Regions from separate parts of the Homo sapiens genome. Here regions 1 and 2 are each linked to region 3. The links are contacts of gene promoters, found by promoter capture Hi-C in blood cells and fetal thymus (Javierre and others, 2016). All regions are on one chromosome and are shown on one strand. The core of a region is centred on a gene start or on the middle of the fragment in contact, and the rest is flanking DNA. Distances in the headings are between cores, read along the strand shown. Region 1 overlaps STK36 (serine/threonine kinase 36). Region 2 overlaps TTLL4 (tubulin tyrosine ligase like 4). Region 3 holds the start of DNAJB2 (DnaJ heat shock protein family (Hsp40) member B2).

Region 1 (4,949 bases), core at 2,430-4,929, 580 kb before region 3:
TTATAGGCTCCTGGGACACTTGCTCCAACACAGCATGGCCCTGCGTGGGGCACTGCAGAGCCAGTCTGGACTGCTCAGCCTTCTGCTGCTTGGGCTTGGAGACAAGGATCCTGTTGTGCGGTGCAGTGCCAGCTTTGCTGTGGGCAATGCAGCCTACCAGGCTGGTCCTCTGGGACCTGCCCTGGCAGCTGCAGTGCCCAGTATGACCCAGCTGCTTGGAGATCCTCAGGCTGGTATCCGGCGCAATGTTGCATCAGCTCTGGGCAACTTGGGACCTGAAGGTTTGGGAGAGGAGCTGTTACAGTGCGAAGTACCCCAGCGGCTCCTAGAAATGGCATGTGGAGACCCCCAGCCAAATGTGAAGGAGGCTGCCCTCATTGCCCTCCGGAGCCTGCAACAGGAGCCTGGCATCCATCAGGTATACCCTACAGCACTTATGAACCATGATGATCAGGGCCCCTATAGTTGACAACATTTCTCTGAGATCATCTGTAAGGAATTGGAATCGGGACATGGAGAAACTTATGCCGTGTTTCTCCCAGGGACAGTGTCTTGGAGTGAGTTTTCTAGTTACATCTCCTGCCTTGGAGGAGGGAAGGGAGCTAGAAGAGGGCTCCAATGGGCTGGGAAATGTCTGAGATCTCAAGGACCACAGTTGATCTCTTCTAGAGGCTGTGCAGGAGGGAGATGAGGGAAGACTAAGAGATGCTGAGATAGAGTAGTTTTACTCTGTGTGCCATGAAGGTGCTGACTATTTTTTTTTTAGACTTACCATGAGAAAAGCACGATGCTAAGCATTTTACCTTTATTATCTGGTTTAAACTATTATTATCCTAATTTTGCAGATGAGGAAACTGAGGCACAAATAATTTAATAACTTGTCCAAATTACAAGGACAGTATGTAGGATTGGGCTTTTGAACTCAGAAGTCTGAGTCCAGAGCCCGTACTCTTAACCACTACTTTATCCTTCCTCTTCTGCGCAACTTTCTTTTTCCTTTTTTTTTTTTCTGAGACAGAGTTTCACTCGTACTGCCCAGGCCGGAGTGCATGGCATGATCTCGGCTCACCACAACTTCTGCCTCCCGGGTTCAAGCAGTTCTCCTGCCTTAGCCTCCCGAGTAGCTGCATTATAGGCATGTGCCACCACGCCTGGCTAATTTTGTATTTTTAGTAGAGACAGGTTTCTCCATGTTGGTCAGGCTGGTCTCGAACTCCCAACCTCAGGTGATCCACCTGCCTTGGCCTCCCAGAGTGCTGGGATTATAGGCGTGAGCCACTCTTTTTTTTTTTGAGACTGAATATCACTCGTTGCCCAGGCCAGAATACAGTGGCGCAATCTCAGCTCACTGTAACCTCTGCCTCCAGGTTCAGCCAATTCTTGTGCCTCAGCCTCCTGAGTAGCCGGGACTATAGGTGCCTGTCACCATGCCCGGCTAATCTTTGTATTTTTATTATTTATTTATTTATTTATTTACTTATTTATTTTTAAGATGGAGTCTCGCTCTGTTGCCCAGGCTGGAGTACAATGGCACAATGTTGGCTCACTGCAACCTCTGCCTCCCAGGTTCAAGTGATTCTCCTGTCTCAGCCTCCCAAGTAGCTGGGATTACAGGCACACACCACCTTACCTGGCTAATTTTGCATTTTTAGTGGAGACAAGGTTTCACCATGTTGGCCAGGCTGGTCTTGAACTCCTGACCTCAAGTGATCCACCCGCCTCAGCCTCCCAAAGTGTTGGGAATACAGGTGTGAGCCACCCTGCCTGACCGCGATTTTCAGTATATAAAGAGTCCAGTAGGCCAGGCTCTGTGGCTCTTGCCTGTAATCCCAGCACTTTGGGAGACTGAGGTGGGCGGATCACTTGAGGTCAGGAGTTTGAGACCAGCCTGGCCAACATAGTGAAACCCTGTCTCTACTAAAAATACAAAAATTAGCTGGGTGTGGTGGCAGGCGCCTGTAATCCCAGCTTCTCGGGAGGCTAAGGCAAGAGAATCCCTTGAACCTGGGAGGAGGAGGTTGCAGTGAGCGGAGATCATGCCTCTGCATTCCAGCCTGGGTGACATAGCGAGACTCTGTCTCAAAAAAAAAAAAAAGCCCATTGGAAATCACAGATATCTACATATGGTAATATAAATTATGACATCTCAAAGTGGTAGCATTGGGAAGTTCATGCAGAGCAGAAATTTGAGAGGATGGTGAAGATCTTTTTTTTTTTTTTGAGACGGAGTCTCACTTTGTCGCCCCCAGGCTGGAGTGCAGTGGCGCGATCTTGGCTCACTGCAAGCTCTGCCTCCCGGGTTCACGCCATTCTGCCTCAGCCTCCCGAGTAGCTGGGACTACAGGCACCTGCCGCCACACCCAGCTAATTTTTTGTATTTTTTTTTTTTTTAGTAGAGACGGGGTTTCACCGTGATAGCCAGGATGGTCTCGATGTCCTGACCTCGTGACCCGCCCGCCTTGGCCTCCCAAAGTACGGGATTACAGGCATGAGCCACCTTGCCTGGCCGATGGTGAAGATCCTATAGGAATCTTGTGCAATCCATGGGGAAAATAATTAATGGGATTCTTGGTGGTAATGAGGTTAGAACTCACTGGTCTGCATTGAAGGCTAGGAATTAGACCTTTTGGCTTACTGTGAGTTACTGCTGCATTCATCAAGTCTTCCTGGGGACAAGTATATGTGTCCCTTAGTGCCTTGGTTTCATGGTCTATAACCAAAGAGAATGGAAGTAGACTTCTGGTCCTGATGATTCCTATCTCCAAGGTTTCTCTTCTGCCATTCAGTCTATTCCAAGTCCCCAAGAGCCCATTTCCTTTTTCTTCCTCTTCTCGAGTGGGAATTCCTGGGTAAATGAGAGTCCTCCGCACCTGCCCCAGACACCACCATTTCTGAGCCTCATGTTCTGTTCTATCATCTGTTCTCTATCCTACAGGTACTGGTGTCCCTGGGTGCCAGTGAGAAACTATCCTTGCTCTCTCTGGGGAATCAGTCACTGCCACACAGCAGTCCTAGGCCTGCCTCTGCCAAACACTGCAGGAAACTCATTCACCTCCTGAGGCCAGCCCATAGCATGTGATTCCAGATTCCTGCGGTCCAGCCTCCAACTTTGGTTGCCAGCTCTTTCTTATTCTACTACACAAGCCGCCAACTCAACTGAGAGCTAAAGAGACTAGAAAAGAGATAAGCTGCCAACTCAACTGAGAACAAGAAACTAGAAGAGATTTATATATAAAGCTTCTTCCTTCTCCCAGATGCAGGATGTTTTCAACCAGTAAATTTTATTGCTGTTGGTGCCAGAGAAGAGTCCTTTCTTCTCTACATCCAGGGGCCTTTTCTCCAATAATGTGCCTTTAACTCTAGGGACCTGCCTCACGGACCTTAGGGAAAAACCTCAACCTGAAAGATCTCTTCCTTTCTGGAGCTCCTTTAATCTTCCCAGCAGGTTTTTGCCTTAGACGTGCTGGCCCCAGGACAGTGATGAAGACAGAGCCTGTCTCAGCTCTAGGCTGTGGGGATCAATGCCATCAGTCCCTGTTATTGAGGGATTATCCCTTAGCCAACATTCCTATCTGTGGGTGGGCGTGGAGAGTGTATCTTTTTTTGGGGTGTGTGTGTATATGTGTGTGTGTATGTGTGTGTGTGTTTAATAGTTCTGTTTGTAAACTCTTTTAATAAAAGTTGTGCCTCACCATACTTGAAGCTCCCAGGACAAGGGTTGAGAGGCTCAACCCCTCTTTCAGCTTCTATGTGGTGTTGGAGGTGCTGGTATCGTGTTCACACAAGATCCTGGTCTGGCAGCTTATTTATATCATTTCTTGCCTTTACCAATTTCCCCCTTCCTAGATGAACTATATTTGGTTACCTACTTTCAAGTCAAGGCCGGTGGAGCTGAAATAGGAAAGGGTAAGATTCAACAGAGCGGTCAATTAGGTTGCTCAGACTTAGTGACTAATTTTAATATTTAGTGGAGTTCTAATGTGTAGGGACTCCAAGCTGCTGTAGAAGGATAGCTATTTTAAAGATTGTACAATTTACCAGAAAGGGCTTTTAGTCAGACCTGTTAGAATTATAATCTAACTGGAAGCATTGGAAAACCTTAACTCATTGGATGGCTTAGAACAAGCTTCCAGGGCCTTGATTTCTCCATCCATAAAATGAGGAGACTCCTTTCTGTCCTTCCTTAAATTCCAGTTGTTTTAGAAATGAAAGACAAGTAAAGTGCCCTTATTTTTATAAGAAATTTTGTTTAACCCTCATCTTCATTGTCCACAGTGTTTATACTTTAGCAAAAATAATATTTTTCTAGGGAGCACCATAATTTTCTTCTATCCAGATTATCTCAATTCAGTTCAATGTATATTTTTTGAGTCCTTTCTGTATGCCAGATACTATTCTAGGTACAGGAGATAAAACAGTGCCCATCATAGAGTTTCCATTCTGGTCGGGGAGATAGTGAAATTATTAAAAGAATAGTATGTAGGAAGGTGGTAAAAGCTATGGAGAAAAAGAAACCAGGGAAAGGAGATGAGGAGTGCTGAGTCGGATGGTCAGGGTAGGCCTCACTAGAAGGTGACACTTGAGAAAAGACTCGAAGGAGGCGAGGGAGTGAGTTGTGCACCTATTTTGGGGAAAAGCCAAGGCCCTGAGATGAAAGCATGCCTGGCATGCTTGAGGAGCTATGAGGAACCAGTATGGATTAAGTGAGTAAAGAAGGTGGAGAATAGTAGGAAATGAGACAGGAAGGTAATGGTGGGGGCCAGATATTGTAGGCTTTGTAGACCTTGGTGAAGACTTGGGCTCTTACTTTGAATGAAGGAGGCATCTATTGCAGGCTTTTGAACAGAGAATTTTATGAACTACCTTGCATCCTAAACGGATCATTCTTCATTCTGGTCTTGTGAATGGCTATGGGGAGTAGGGGAGAATGCGAAGTAGGATAAGCAGTT
Region 2 (4,607 bases), core at 649-3,148, 560 kb before region 3:
CACTTTTCAGTAATTTATAGGTTTACCTCCCTCAGCTCCAGCTGCCATAACCTGTATCTTTTCCTCAGGTTTGCTTACTTGTTTGGCATTGCTAAACTGTGCTCTACAAGAGCTACCTGTAATTTCACTAATCTTGACTTATACGGACCCACCCTTCTCACTAGGCTGTATTCTTGACCTTCCTCTCTTAGTAGGGCTTTAGGAGAGATATATTGCTCCTCCACCTTTCCTTAGGGAGAGAGAGCTTGGGATTTATCTCATAAGAGAAAATTAATGTGATTCCTACACTCCTCTCTATTTGGTTCCAGGCAAGTCAGTTCTATCTTCTTCTTTTTTTTTTTTTTGGAGACAGAGTCTTGCTCTGTCACCCAGGCTGGAGTGCAGTGGCACAGTCTCGGCTCACTGCAAGCTCCGCCTCCCGGGTTCAGGCCATTCTCCTGCCTCAGCCTCCCAAGTAGCTGGGACTGCAGGCGTCTGCCACCACGCCTTTTGTATTTTTAGTAGAGATGGGGTTTCACCGTGTTAACCAGGATGGTTTTGATCTCCTGACCTCGTGATCCACCTGCCTCAGCCTCCCAAAGTGTTGGGATTACAGGCGTGAGCCTGTCAGTTCTATCTTCTAACATAACTGTTGAGCAGTTGAGGTAATCTCATCAGAGATCTTGTGGACTGTAGACTGAACCATTTCTGATGTCCTGAGTTTCCCTGGTGACCGAGGGAAACACCTAGTTGAAGGAGGAAAGGGAAACTGCATTTCCCAAGAGCCACACTCTCTTGTAGGAGAGTGATTTAATTAGTGGGTAATGAATAATTGCTTTCTCTAGAAATAGATACCTTGTCCAAGTTGGTCTGGGCCTGGTCCCTGGAGACTTGTTGGTTTGCGACAGCAGCAATAGATTTTCTTTTCTTTTTTTTTTTTCTTTTGAGACGCAGTTTCACTCTTGTTGCCCAGGCTGGAGTGCAATGGCGCAATCTCGGCTCACCGCAACCTCTGCCTCCCAGGTTCAAGCGATTCTCCTGCCTCCACCTCCCAAGTAGCTGGGATTACAGGCATGCACCACCATGCCTGGCTAGTTTTGTATTTTTAGTAGAAATGGGGTTTCTCCATGTTGCTCAGGCTGGTTTCGAACTCTCGACCTCAGGTGATCTGCCCACCTCGGCCTCCCAAAGTACTGGGATTTCAGGCATGAACCACTGCGCCCGGCCAGCAATAGATTTTCTAACATAGGCTACTAATCATTCACACTCCTTTAAGGAGGAAACTTGAGGCAAAATCACCCCATAAAGATTGGAGGACAGAACTGTATAGGCAGTTTCCAAATGCTGCATGAAGATGACAAAGTAGGATGTTCAGATTCCTGAGAATGGGTGTTTTAAAGGGGAGAGTCTGGAGCCAGGGACATCAGTCAGGCTGCTTACCTTAACAGTCCTGCACTTGGTGTTAGAGGGGTTGGAGACTGGGCTGAGGCAGCCATGCAAATAGAAGGGGATGTTTCAGGCCATTTTGTTGATCCATACAACTTTCTGCAGTTTTTTATTCTTCACTCTTACCCCTTTATTCAAGTTTTATTTTTATTTTTAACAGTTTTGTGGAGGTATAATTCACATTGAACATATCCATCGTTTCTAAGTCAATTTTTTAAAAACTTTTGTTCTAGGAAGACTTAGTGTTCCATAAAGTTGTTGGGGGAGGAGACTTGGGCAATATTGCTAATAGGAGGCCAAACTGGACCAGGGTTCTTCCCACCCCCTTCTGCCAGCGTGGCTCTGTATTTGAGGTTAAAGATCCCCAGAGATTTCCTATAAAAGCCATCATGAAGCTTATAGGGCATATCACTAGGGTAAGTGAACAGTGGTGTGAGATAGCCTTGGGAAAGTATCACGTGAGAGGGACACACAACAGGTGCTCGTGGAGAGGGTGGGTCTTGAGCTGGGTCTGGAAAAGGTAAATAAAATATGGTAAGGATTCACAAGGAAGAAGCTTAGTGGAGTAAAGCCCTGCAGACAGGCATTTGAAAGGTTTATTCCAGGAATTTAGTGTAAGACCAGCGCAGTTCACATAACAGAGTTCAAGGTAGGAGGAAATGGAAATAAGCCTTAAAAAAAAAAAAAAAAAGATTAAGGGTCGACTATGGAGTCTTGTGGACCAAAGCTAAGAAATCTCACATGACAGTCATCTGGAATGCTTGTTAAAACTGCAGACTCATGGCCCTACTCCACACCAACTGAATCCTCTTGAAGGTGAATCTCAGGACTTTGCATCTCAGGTTATTCTGATGCAGGTGGGCCACCACAGTGTTTAGTAAGTGCTCATGGACCGTTTTTGAAAAGGGATTGACCTGATGAAGCAATACAGCAAAATTAATCTGGAGGTTGCCTGCAGGGTGGAATTAGGAAGGGCACACCTTGGAGACACATGCTTCAGTCAGTGCTGTTGCAGTAAGTCCAGATCTAGGGGCATGGTGGAAATAATAAAAGGAGGAAGAATGCTAAGTAGACAGAGTGTCTTAAATTTCATGACTGGTTTCCCTTTGGGGAAATAAAGTAAAGGAAAAAGTCAGAAATAACTTAGTTTTCCTCTTAGGTGATTTGGAGAAAGAAGGGTCCACTCAAGGAAATGGGACGATCAGGAGTGGAGAGCTAGTTTGACACACTAGATTGAAGTGGTTGGACATGCATTTGGAAAGGTGGAACAGGCAGTTGGTGATGCAGACATGAAACTTGAGACGACAAATCTGCAAAATGACTCTTCTGCAGATAATAGTTGACATTGTGAGAGAGATTGATTTGATGTGGGGGAGGATGAAAGAACTGGAGGATTTTGGATTGGCCTCAGGAGGAGGAAAGACACTATTGAAGGGGTTGGGTACAGCTGTGGCAGAGTGCACGCACTGAGTAAAAAATAGCAACAAGGAGATGGTGGTAAGAGGGGAACGCCTTTTTCATATGAATAGGTCCAACTCGTGGCTTTGCTGATGTGATATTGTGATATAATAAGAAATACTCCAGCCTGGTCAGCATGGTGAAACCCTGTCTCTACAAAAATACAAAAATTATCCGGGCACGATGGCGGGTGCCTGTAATCCCGGCTATTCGGGAGGCTGAGGCGGGAGAATTGCATGAACGCGGGAGGCAGAGGTTGCAGCGAGCCGAGATCGTACCATTGCACTCCAGCCTGGGCAACACAGTGAGACTCCGGTCTCAAAAAAAAAAAAAAAAAGAAAGAAATACATAATTGGGGTGTGCCCCTGGTTCCTGGCTCCTAAAACCTTCAGAACTTGTAAGTGATAAGTGTCTTTTTATATGCTAATGAGATGATTGATAGCTGGGGACTCCTGAATAGCCTCAAGATGGGAGGCTGATTGCCGAGAGAACCAACCATGTGATTAGAGGGTTGGAACTTTCAGTTCCATCCCCCACCTTCTGGGAAGGGGAGTGGAGCCAAAGATTGAGCTGACTACCAATGGCCAGTGATTTATTCAGTCATGCCTATTAATGAAACCTGCATAAAAACCCAAAAGGACAGGGTTTGGATTGTTGAGCACATGAATGTACCTGGCACTCCCGGTAACAGCACGGAAGCTCCAAGCCCTTTTCCCCATCCCTTGCCCTATGCATCATGTATCTCTTCCATGTGGCTGTTCATCTGTATCCTTTGTAATAAATAGGTAAATGTAAGTGAAGTGTTTCCCTGAGTTCTGTGAGTTGTTCTAACAAATTGATCAAACCCCATGGGGGGGTTTTGGGAACCTCAATTTACCCCCAATTAATTAATTAATTAATTAATTAAGAGGTGGGGTTCTGCCATGTGGCCCAGGCTAATTTTGAACTCCTGGGCTCAAGCGATTCGCCCCACCCAAGGTGTTGGGATTACAGGTGTGCGTCACCGCGCCTGGCCAGGGAACACCAATTTATAGCAAATCAATCAGAAGCACAGGTCACAACCTGTGCCTTGCAATTGGAATCTGAAGTGGAAGCAGCCTTGTGGTACTGAGCCCTTAACCTGTGAGATCTGATGCTATCTTTAGGTAAATAGTGTCAGAATTGAATTATAGGATATCCAGCTGGTGGCCTCTGGAGCATTCCTTGGTGTGTGTGCCTCACACATTTTGATGACCAGAGGTGAAATATTCTGTACTGTGTTAAGAGTGACTATGTAAGGGAGTGAAAAAAGTTTTTTCCCCCTTAGCTGGTCATAGCTGTTGTAGATGCATTTGTTTATTCAGCAAATATTTAATGAGCCCTGATTACCATTCTAGGGCTGGATACATAAGCTCTGTGAAAAAGTCCCTGTGCTCAAAGCTTTCATTCTGGAAGATAGACAGATAGCAAAGAAATGCATAAATAATTGAGGTTTTTATTTTAAAATAGCCAGGCCCAGTGGCTCATACCTGTAATCTCAGCACTTTTGAGAGGCTGAGGCAAGAGGATCACTTGAGGGCAGGAATTCGAGACCAACTGGGGCAACATAGTGAGACTCTGTCTCTATTTAAAAAAAAAAATTAAAAAACTCAGAAGTTAAAATTAGGGCCAGGTGTAGGGGTTCATGTCTGCAGTCCCAGCACTTTGGGAAGCTGAGGTGGGAGAATCGCTTGAGCCCAGGAGTT
Region 3 (4,918 bases), core at 2,419-4,918:
GTTTTAAATAATTTTGTGCATGAAACAGTTTGTGTATATAAGGTCAGGTATGGAATTTTCCACTTGTGGCATCATGTCAGGTACTCAAAAAGTTTTGAATTTTTGAACATTTCACATTTTGGGTTTTTGGAGTAGGGATGCTCCATCTGTACTACCATGCTTGTATGCACATTTAGTATACACTTTGTTCTACACCTTGTTTTTTCAGTTAATAATAAATCTGGAAGATGGTCCATATGAATACTGTTAGCTATGCCTCATTCTATTTGGTCACAATATAATATTCCATCGTATAGCATACCAACACTTGTTTTACCAGTCTGCTATTAACGGGTATTTAGATTGTTTCCAATCTTTTGCTATTAAAAAGAATGCTGCAACCCTTGTATGTATTTTTTTTGCACATATATATGACCATACATTCTTAGAATTGAGATTTCTGGGTCAAAGATTATGCATTTTAAATCTTGCTCTCTTTAAAAGTCACACCAGGCCGGGCACGGCGGCTCACGCCTGCAATCCCAGCTACTTGGGAGGCTGAGGCAGGAGAACTGCTTGAACCCGGGAGGCAGAGGTTGCCGTGAGCCAAGATTGCACCATTGCACTCCAGCCTGGGCAATAAGAGTGAAACTCTGCCTCAAAAAAAAAAAAAAAAAAAAAGTCACATCAAATTACCCACCCTCCCACTACCAATCTATAAGAATGCCTGTGCCCTCAGCCTTGCCCATACAATGTATTCAACTTTTTTCTTTTTTTTGTCTTTGTCAATCATCCAATAAGTGAAACAAAGTATTTTGTTAGGGCCATGTGCCCGGGTGCAGTGGCTCTGGCCTATAGTCCCAGCACTTTGGGAGGCTGAGGCAGGAGGATCATCTGAGGCCAGGAGTTTGAGACCAGTCTGGCCAACATGGTGAAACCCCATCTCTACAAAAAATACAAAAATTAGCCAGGGGTGGTGGCACATGCCTGTAATCCCAGCTACTTGGGAGGCTGAGGCAGGGGAATTGCTTGAACCTGGGAGGTTGCAGTGAGCCAAGATAGTGCCACTGCACTGGAGCCTGGATGACAGAGCAAGACTCCATCTCAAAAAACAAAACCCCAAAGTATTTTGTTGTAGCTTTATTATTATTATTCTTTTAAAAATTATTATTATTTGAGATGGAGTTTCACTCTTGTTGCCCAGGCTGGAGTGCAATGGCACGATCTTGGCTCACTGCAACCTCCGCCTCCCGGGTTCAAGTGATTTTCCCGTCTCAGCCTGCCGAGTAGCTGGGATTACAGGCATGTGCCACCACGCCTGGCTACTTTTTGTATTTTTGGTAGAGACAGGGTTTCACCATATTGGCCAGGCTGATCTGAAACTCCTGACCTCAGGTGATCTACCCGCCTTGGCCTCCCAAAGTGCTGGGATTACAGGCATGAGCCACCATGCCTGGCCTGTCGTAGCTTTAGTTTACAGTTTTTTTGTGAATGAGATTGAGCATCTTTTCATTTGTTTAAAAGCCAGTATTTCCTCTTCTGTGAGCTGCCTGTCCCTTTGTCCATTTAAAAATGTCATTGTCTTTCATTAGTTGGCATTTCTTTGTGGACAAAGGAAATTAAACCTTTGTCTGCTAGATGTGCTCCATATAATTTCCCTCAGTTGTCATTTGTCTATGTCCTATCCCCTTGAGCACAGAGATTGGAATTTAAACTTTTTTATATTCTTTTTCTTAATATAACAAGACATACACGGTAGGTGCTAGACAAATGTCTGTTGGCACAGCAGAGTAAGAAGAAAAAGGCAGAGATCTGGAAAATTTGGAGTGACTTAACCCAACCACTCCTTCCTCTTATACCAAGTCTAACCCTTAGTCTTTGTGTCAGTCAGGACTCTTATAAACAGCAGAAGCTAACTGGCAAATTGTTTCAAGTCCCCTGCCCCCAACAATTATAGAGATATCGGATAGCACACAGAATCAATGCAAGGGCCAGCAAACAAGGGTCAGCAATCAGACAGGCACCTAGGGAAGCTGGGCAGCCAGTACCACAGTCAAGGTTGGGCACAGGACAGCCTGTGTAGGAGACTCCTGTCCCCTCCACCCTCCGCAGTGATCCTCCTACTCTCGTCCCTCACCTGCGGCAGTAGCGCTGACACTTCCTCCTCCAGACACTAGAGGCCGCTGTTGGCCCCATCGCCTCCACCGCCGCCGCAGAAATGAATTCCTAAACCAGCCTTGCTATTCCGTGACTTGCTCCAGATTCAAAGTCCCAGTTGGAGCATCCGATTGGCGGAGCTCATGTCTTCTGCCTGCAACCCCAGAGCCGAGTCAGGGAGAGCAAGCATTGGGGCTTTGTGGCAAATGGTGGCCTGCTTTCCATTAGGGCCCTTGCGATGGGAATTCCCCAAATGTAGGCAGGAGGTTCTGATGGTGGGCAGCCAGGAAACCAGGACACTCACACCACCTTCTTCTCTCACGTCCGCCTCAAACCCTTCTCGTTGGCGAAGTATTCCTGGGTCCCCCAGCCTAAAGCACTTTTCTGGACTCACATAACCATTATTGCTTGAGCCAATCACGATGCCAGCAGGACCGCAGTAACACCTAATTCGTACCATGTCTCATTTGACTTTCAAACAACCCTAGGCACTACCTATATTTAGTGAGAAAAAAAGAGTGCTCAGAGATTTTCCCAAGTCTCACAGTAATGCCAGGTTGTACTCTGTTTCCAAAGCCTCGGGTTTCCCAGCGGGCTACACTGATGGGCTGGTATCTTATCAAGTTCAAGCTCTGCAAAGGCAGGGCTTGGGCCACATTCTTCTTTATACGGCCTGGCAGCATCTTGAATGCAGAAAAATGCTCAGCTAACGCCTTTGGATTGGCCTGGATGGGATCAAGCAGGAGCCAGTTCTGGAAGGTTTCCTAACTCTCCAATGAGGCCTGAACCCAGGGAGCATTTTGAAGTGGAATAGGCCTACTCAGGATCAGTTTGGGAAGACTTGAACCTGGGGAATTCCGTTGTACGGCCCCCTTTACCTCACCTCCCCCAAATGTGTCAAAACTGTCAACAAGAGGTTTGCAGGTGTTCATTATTTATTCATCCCACGGGTAGTTTTGAACCCCTACGACTGCTCTAATAGACCAGTGAGAAAAAACACACAATTCCTGTCCTGTGAAATCGACATTCTAGTGGGGGAGGTGAATGGTAATAAAAAATAATCAAACCAATAAATGCTAATTTGTGGCTCTAACAAGCCTGATGAAGGAAATGCCACGAGATGCTGTAAAAGGCAGTTCTGACCTACTCAGGAAAGCCAGGGCAGCCTGCTGGGGGACCTGGGGCTGGAGCTGGGAGCTGAAGAAGGGGGAGGAGTTAGAACCGTGGTGGGGGGAGGGAGGGAAGAGTCTGAGTCCTCGAGGTGGGTGAGTAAGCATGGATCATCGCTCATGTTTATAAGAAAGTGACAGAGGAACCTGGGGGCCGAGCGGCTTGTTTGTGGGCTGCCCCAGCCTCCGTGCGAGCGCTTCTCGCTTGGATGGAGGCGGGGCCGCAGTCTCCCAGGTCCCAGCTGGGGCTGACGTCGTCCTGGTGTGTGCCCAAAATAGCCGGCTCCGCCCTCTTCTCCCGGCAGCCCCTGCAGGCCCCCACCCCCCCAGGGGACAGGCGGAGCCGGCCTTCTCCCCGTCTCTAGTAGTTTCCGCACCGCTGACGCATGCCTGCGCGCACAGCTGGGCCGGGCGCGTCCTACGCAGCAGCCGCGAGCCGGGCTGCGGGTGCCAGACGGTTCCCGGCGGGGGGCAGGGGCGGGGCGCCGCAGGAGGCCGGGACTCCTGGCGGAGGAGGTGCGGCCGGGGGCCCGGGTCAGGCTGGGGGCCCTGGATCGGACTGCTGGAGTTGGGGGGCCCCGATAGGGCTCCTGGGCCTGGGCGTCGAGATAGCTCTTGGCCCCGGCCTGCGGGGGCAGATAAGGCTGCCGGAGGGAGCCTAGTCACCGGCCGCAAGCAGAGCCCGGTGTGCTCCGCTTCCAACTGGGAGCGCCTTCCGCCACCCGGGGAGGGGGACTGCTGCAGCCACAGGGTGGGGCTCTTGGTTCTTTCCGCCTGACTCCTTCTCTTCTGCAGCCCCAAGGAGGCCCGCCTGACGACTGACCAGTTGCCATGGCATCCTACTACGAGATCCTAGACGTGCCGCGAAGTGCGTCCGCTGATGACATCAAGAAGGCGTAAGTGCCTCCGTATGCAACAGAAGACCTCTCACCCTCCACCCGCCACCACCATGGGGCACTTCAGAGTGACACCTGTAGGTGTCTGAGGGAACCAGGTCGTTAGAAAGCACTGGGGTGCTTCTTCCGAGTGACACCTGCAGGGAGGAAAGAGACCCCTGGTAGAGTACAAGGAGAACGTCCAGAGAGTGAAGTAGTTAGTTCCTCTGGGAGCTGCACTGTGTTATGGGTTGTTCTCCAGTTGATCTTCCCCTCCTCCTCCTCCTCCTCCTCCTTTCCCCTCCCCTCCCCCTTCCCCCTAGATTTGGGCATTCTCAGGCTGCAGTGCAAAGATGCAGTGCAAAGAGGCTCTATGAGGAGGAGGGGCCGGTGTCCCTGTACTCTTCGAGGCCACATGTGCCCCAACCTTTGCAGCCCCAGTCCAGTGAGCCCTAGGGAGGGGCTAGGGACCCTGGCATTGTATCCGCTTGTACATGTGGTCCCAGCACTGGTGGCGGAGGAGAGAGGGTGGAACTTGATGAAAATATCACAGCAGCGGCAGCCCTAGCAGCTGGGGTGGACTGGGACCCGGGGGTGAAAGGACAGTGATAGGCTAATGGGAAAACAGGTCGTTCGGTTCCTGGGTGGGAAGTGCCTGCATTTGTCCCCCGACTCTCTCCTCTGCACCCACTTTCTGCAGGTATCGGCGCAAGGCTCTCCAGTGGCACCCAGACAAAA

Evidence for each region. The method cuts DNA at HindIII sites, captures the fragments that hold promoters and counts their contacts. A CHiCAGO score of 5 or more calls a contact.
Region 1: a contact is called between a fragment that was not itself captured here and the fragment with the promoter of DNAJB2 in region 3, in 4 of 17 cell types (activated CD4 T cells, naive B cells, total CD8 T cells and 1 more). The highest score is 6.7, in activated CD4 T cells.
Region 2: a fragment that was not itself captured here is called in contact with the fragment with the promoter of DNAJB2 in region 3 in 4 of 17 cell types (activated CD4 T cells, naive CD8 T cells, naive B cells and 1 more); the score reaches 7.8 in activated CD4 T cells.

Annotation. Positions count from the first base shown.
Region 1 is chr2:218,698,931-218,703,879 of GRCh38, forward strand. STK36 (serine/threonine kinase 36) reads left to right here. Exons shown (of 27, transcript NM_015690.5): 26 at 1-418; 27 at 2,936-3,785. The coding sequence ends at 3,079. Among named protein-coding and RNA genes, the nearest start is that of TTLL4, 9.4 kb to the right of the region's middle. RefSeq lists an enhancer at 116-616. The HindIII fragment of the contact is 889 bases long and covers 3,236-4,124 here.
Region 2 is chr2:218,717,472-218,722,078 of GRCh38, forward strand. The region is part of intron 1 of TTLL4 (tubulin tyrosine ligase like 4); the gene reads left to right. Among named protein-coding and RNA genes, the nearest start is that of TTLL4, 8.9 kb to the left of the region's middle. RefSeq lists a silencer at 2,095-2,392. The HindIII fragment of the contact is 161 bases long and covers 1,819-1,979 here.
Region 3 is chr2:219,275,698-219,280,615 of GRCh38, forward strand. It overlaps DNAJB2 (DnaJ heat shock protein family (Hsp40) member B2), which reads left to right and starts at 3,669. Exons shown (of 9, transcript NM_006736.6): 1 at 3,669-3,821; 2 at 4,101-4,201; 3 at 4,881-4,918. The coding sequence starts at 4,137. RefSeq lists an enhancer at 1,789-2,493 and silencers at 2,070-2,272, 3,514-3,993. The HindIII fragment of the contact is 26,435 bases long and covers 1-4,918 here.